2 separate regions of the Homo sapiens genome follow, and region 1 is linked to region 2. Evidence: promoter capture Hi-C in human tissues and cell types (Jung and others, 2019). All regions are on one chromosome and are shown on one strand. The core of a region is centred on a gene start or on the middle of the fragment in contact, and the rest is flanking DNA. Distances in the headings are between cores, read along the strand shown. Region 1 overlaps TRAPPC10 (trafficking protein particle complex subunit 10). Region 2 holds the start of AIRE (autoimmune regulator).

Region 1 (2,700 bases), core at 1-2,500, 210 kb after region 2:
TAAAGCTCACACAAAAGACATTGTTGGGTTTTTGTTTTGAGACAGAGTCTTGCTCCATCGCCCAGGCTGGAGCACAGCGGTGAGATCTCAGCTCACTGCAACCTCCGCCTCATAGGTTGAAGTGATTCTTGTGCCTCAGCTTCCCAAGTAGCTGGGACTACAGGCGCCACCAGGCCCGGCTAATTTTTTGTATCTTTAGCAGAGACAGGATTTCACCATGTTGGCTAGGCTGGTCTCAAACTCCTGACCTCAAGTGATCCACCTGCCTCAGCCTCCCAAAGTGCTGAATTACAGGCGTGAGCCACCATGCCCAGCCCGCAGAAGACATTGCTAATAATGTAACATTATTTTTTCCTTTGCATCTATTTTTGTGAATTTTTCTGTAATATATAAGCAAAATTGGTAACCTGTGTATAAATTATGAAGCATAATAATAAAAGAAACCCACAAACTCATCCAAAACATCTAACTTTTCCAAGGACTTTCTGCACGTGGGTGACATGCTGGGTATTTTTCATACTTGTGTGTATAAGAGGTACAGCCATTACGGGCAGACCAAACGCTCAAGTTGCCCATGACCCGGGAATGACGCTGACCCACCACACTTCTGCCTACGCCGTTTTTTAAAGTTTTGCTAATTTAAGTCTTTCAAAATCAAATACAATAGCTCTGCCCAAGTCCAAATTACTCCTTTTTACAAAGAAAAGTATTCACTAGCCTCTCTTATAATTTCTGTGTGAGCAAACCCAATTTGAACAAAACGGTAAATATTCAAAGATGATTCCATGCCTAGCATGGTACCATGGGCACTAATACACATTTGATGAACTACTCCATGTTTTGTCCACAACTCCCCAGGTACCAAAGAAACTAAAAAAAACCAACAAGAAGGGGCCCCCCACACCAGTTCCTTCCCAACTCAACAGGCCATGTAGCAAAGCCTTCTAGAGACAGGTATTCACAGAACAGACATTGAACACTTGTTAATACTTACTAAGTAGTGTTTTTCAAAAGCTTCCACTGACGATAATGCTTCTTTCAGTTTCTTATAAGGACTCTGAGCTGTGTTGGCTTAAACAGAAAGAAACGAGAGTCCCTCTTCATCTTCATCATGTCCAGTCACATGACTTTACATTCACCTTCACATACTGCAGGTAGATGACCTCATCTGACTCTTGTGAAATTACAAACCGGCCAATGCCAACGGAAACTACATGATTATGTACATTCTCTTTCAATTCACATATTCATAAAATAGTCAAAACGCTTTGTGTCATGCTTTTTCTCTGATCTTTAGAACTAAACTTTTTTAGAAACATATATTACAAATACTCCGATGAATTAAATTACTTCCGAAGTGATCTGAAATGGTCTCAAGTTGAAACAATGAAATATAAATACTACGTATTTTTTCCCTTAAACATTTATTCAATTTACTAAGAATGTTTTCAGCTCATCAGATATTCTTTAGCAACAGTCTTGCTAAATAATACTCATCATATATTCCTACGTAAAACAATGAGTAATCCTCCTTTCAAAGAGCCTTATTATCCAGGAGAATTTTTTTTTTTTTTTGACAGAGTTTTGCTCTTGTTGCCCAGGCTGGAGTGCAATGGAGCAATCTTTGTTCACCACAACCTCCACCTCCCAGGTTCAAGCGATTCTCCTGCCTCAGCCTCCCGAATAGCTGGGATTACAGGCATGCACCACCACACCCGGCTAATTTTGTATTTTTAGTAGAGATGGGGTTTCTCCATGTTGGTCAGGCTGGTCTCGAATTCCTGACCTCAGGTGATCCGCCCACCTCGGCCTCCCAAAGTGCTGGGATTACAGGTGGGAGCCACCGTGCCCAGCCAATTTATTTTAAAAAATTTGCTGGGAGGCCAGGGCAGGAGGATCACTTTAGGCCAGGAGTTTGAGACCAGCCTGGGCAATACAGCGAGACTCCATCTCTACAAAAAATTAAAAAATTAGCCAAGTATGGTAGCACACACCTGTAGTCCCAGCTACCTGGGAGGGTGAGGCAAGAGGATCCCTTGAGCCCAGGAGGTCGAGGCTGCAGTGAGCCAAGATTGTGCCACTACACTCCAGTCTGGGCAACAGAGTGAGACCCTGTCTCTTAAAAAAAAAAAAAATCGTCAGGTCGTATTGTTAGAAAAACAGATCATCTGTAATTCAGAGAGACAGTGGTGCATTTGAACATGAGCTATAAAGTCCCTTAAGCCCAGGAGAAACTCAGCTACATTTCTGAAACTCCTTCCAATTTCTTCAACTATTTCTAATATTGCATTATGCTGTTAAAAGGTAAACTATCATGTGCTTTAATCCAGTCAGCTAACAATGGGTATAATTTTCCAAATGGTGAGTAATATGATTACTCTTAGAACTTCGGTTAAATGTGCCAACTTGCAAAGGACATTTTCATTACTGTCCACCTCACCACTCACACAGGTATATACAAAAAAGTACCTGTTTCTGGTCGCTCAGCTCCCAAACCTGCCAAAAGGTCAACTGTCCTGTTGAGATCTTCTGAGTTAGGTCCTTTCTCTGACACAAGTCCACATAGATAGCCCAAGGACTTTAACTGTTAAGATAAATCCACAATTTCAATTAATTTGCCGTAAGAGTCAGCAGGGAATTCAAGAATTTAAATATAAAAATTCAAATCCAGCTAAATTCTAGAAGAAATTTAGCTTTCCT
Region 2 (2,700 bases), core at 4-2,503:
CTGGCGGTGCCCCTTGGAGTCAGGGCTGCTGGCGCGGCAGCTCGAGCCTCTTCTGAGGCCTTCCTCTTGGTGGGGAGTCTGGGTGGCGGTACCAAAGCCTTGGGGACGGCCGGGGGCTTCCTCCCCTTCCGGGGCTGGCTGAGGTCCACATCTGCAGCTCAGGGGCAGGAGCAGGGTCCCAACCTCAGGGTTTTCTCCAGGGGTAGGGTGGGCCCCAGAACTGGACACCTTGGCCAGACAGGTGAGGCCTGGCCCCTTTGCCTCTTAGGATCCAAGACGGTCCTGGAACATCACCCACGGGCTCCTCAAACACCACTCCGGTTCCAGTCCAGCTGGGCTGAGCAGGTGACAGCAGCTGCCCCAGGCCCCCAGCATGGCTGAGTCCACCAGGACCCACCTTTGGGGAAGCTGTCCAGGATGGGCTGCAGCCGGCCATAGCGCTCCAGGTTGTAGTCCTTGAACAGCACCCTCCAGAAGTCCAGGATGGCTGTGGAGTCCTGGGTCAGCAGCCAGGACAGGAGGGCGTGGAAGGCCTGGGGGCAGCCCTCCTTTTCCTTCAGATGAAGCGTCTCCTGCAGTGGGGTGGCATGAGGGTCCCTGCCATGGTCCCCCACACCCTGCGGCCTGCCCATCTCCATCATGACTAGAGGGTGGAGCTCCCAGGCAGAGGCGCTGGCGACCTGGACAGCTCCACGCCCATCTCCTCGGCTTGTGGTGGAGTCAGGTGGTGGTGTAGGGGTGTTGAGGGTGGGGCTGGGGGAACCTGGAGGCCATTCCCTTGGCTTGGGGGTGAGGTGTGGGGACGGCTGGGGGAAGGGGACCAACTTCTAACTTGTCATCAGGGACGCCCCTGGCTCCTTGTGGGGAGGGAGTTGGGGAAGGCTGGAGGGGCTTGGGGATCTGGAGGGGCGGGGTCCTCCTGGAACTTCCCCGGGGACTATCCCTGGCTCACAGGGCCTGGGGGCAGCGGGGGGCGGGCGGGGAGCCCACCTGAAACTTGTCCTCGGGGACCACGTCGTGGTCAGCCAGCGCGTGCAGCAGTGGGAAGGCGCTGTCCACGGCCACCGCGATCTCCGTGCGGTGCAGCCTCAGAAGCCGGCGTAGCGCCGCGTCCGTCGCCATGGGGTGGGCGCGGGGACCCGGGGCTGGGGCGGACGCGGTGGGTCCCGGGACACTGGCAGCCCCTCGCTTGGCCTCGGGTCCCGGCGGGGCTGTGGGGCCTCCGCGCCGGCTGTGCGCCCGCCCGTCTCCCCGGTCTGCGAGCCACGCGCGCCGCTGTTATACCCCCGCGACCACGCAAAGAGCAAAGGCCGCTCCGCCCCGGCGCCCAATCAGGGCCAGGGCCTCCCGCAGGGACACTTCCCTGTGATGGAGGCGCTGCTGTCCCTCCCTCGCTCTCGGGAAGTCTCCGGGCCTGGCCTGACTCACCCACCAGGGCAGCTGCCTTGGGGGCTGGGGACAGAGACTCGCTCTGTGCGGGACTCAGAGAACTCTCACTTCCGAATGTGGCCCTGTCCTGCCTCGGCGAGGGCCCTGCTCGAATGGGGCAAAGCCGAGACAGGTGCCCTCGGCGGGGAGGCTCGGGTCTCAGGGCCCTGGCAGGGGCTGCCCAGGGTGCACCGGCCCCTCCCAGTGGCCGGCAAGAGCCTCCATGGAGGCTGGATCGGGGTGGTGTTCCTGGGGGACCTCCACACAAGCTGAGAGCCCCTACTCAGGGGCCCGCCTGGGGCTGTGGGAGGAGCCCGATGGAGGCTCAGTCTGATGCAGGAGACGGTACGGCAGCCTGGGTGTTGCCAGGGAGCTCCTGACCTCACCATCTTAGGCTAGCTGTGTGACGCCAGGCAAGTCCTTTCCTTCTCTGAGCCTCGGTTCCCTCATCTTTAAAAGGGGCACACTCGCCTGGGGATTGAGGCTCGCATTGACCCCCTCCTTCCTTCCTCCAGGTGCTTTAGAAGGAAGGCGGCCAGCCCCACAACGGGGGTCCTGAGTGTGGCCCTGAGTGAGAGCTCCCAAAGGGTCTTCCTAGGACCAGTGACAGAGGCTGAGGGATGCTGTGGCCTGGACAGGAGCTTCCGGGGGCATCTGGGAAGGTGTCCGGGAGGGGAGCTGCAGTGGACAGGAGCCGAGGGTCCCAGGTGGACGTGAGTGGGGACAGTGCCCCCAGTAAAACAAGACCAGGTGCAGAGGCCTGGGGCCTGCAATGATGCTGAGGCTGTGGTGGCCCCGCAGGCATGGCCTGGAGGGGGGGTGGCCTCAGTGGGAGGCCTTGGTAACAGTCCCCTTGTCTGTGCGGTCAAGCCAGGGAAGCAGGCCCTGTGTGCAGGCTGCAGAGAACCACGAGAGGTCTCTGGGCACGAGTGTTCCCACTGAGCCAGAGAACGAGATGACCTGGCCAGCATGGATTAGGGCTGAAGGGTGGACGAAGGTACCAGGAAGCCTGAATCCAGGCAGCACTGGGCTGGGGGCTAACTGATGCAGTGAGAGACGCCACCAAGATTCCCACGTGGGCAGGCGTGCCGTTTGCTTTTGGGCAGCCAGAGTCCAGGATGGAGAGCGGCAGACACCTCTCCTCTAGACCAGGGGTCGGTCTCGGTTTCTCCTACCGCCTTCAGGCCCAGGGTCCCCCTGAGCGTTCTGCACGTCTGAGATTGCTCCGGAAAAGACTCTAGGGGTGTTTGGGAACAAACCTGGGGAGGAAGG

Evidence for each region. Contacts are between HindIII fragments. The study calls those that stand out against the background at their distance.
Region 1: a contact is called between a fragment that was not itself captured here and the fragment with the promoter of AIRE in region 2, in 1 of the 25 tissues and cell types used here (dorsolateral prefrontal cortex).

What each region holds. Positions count from the first base shown.
Region 1 is chr21:44,074,923-44,077,622 of GRCh38, reverse strand. TRAPPC10 (trafficking protein particle complex subunit 10) reads right to left here. Exons shown (of 23, transcript NM_003274.5): 9 at 2,470-2,584; 10 at 995-1,071. Among named protein-coding and RNA genes, the nearest start is that of PWP2, 31 kb to the left of the region's middle. The HindIII fragment of the contact is 7,831 bases long and covers 1-2,700 here.
Region 2 is chr21:44,284,429-44,287,128 of GRCh38, reverse strand. It overlaps AIRE (autoimmune regulator), which reads right to left and starts at 1,253. Exons shown (of 14, transcript NM_000383.4): 1 at 991-1,253; 2 at 398-572; 3 at 1-151. The coding sequence starts at 1,122. RefSeq lists enhancers at 1,774-2,375, 2,376-2,700. The HindIII fragment of the contact is 44,459 bases long and covers 1-2,700 here.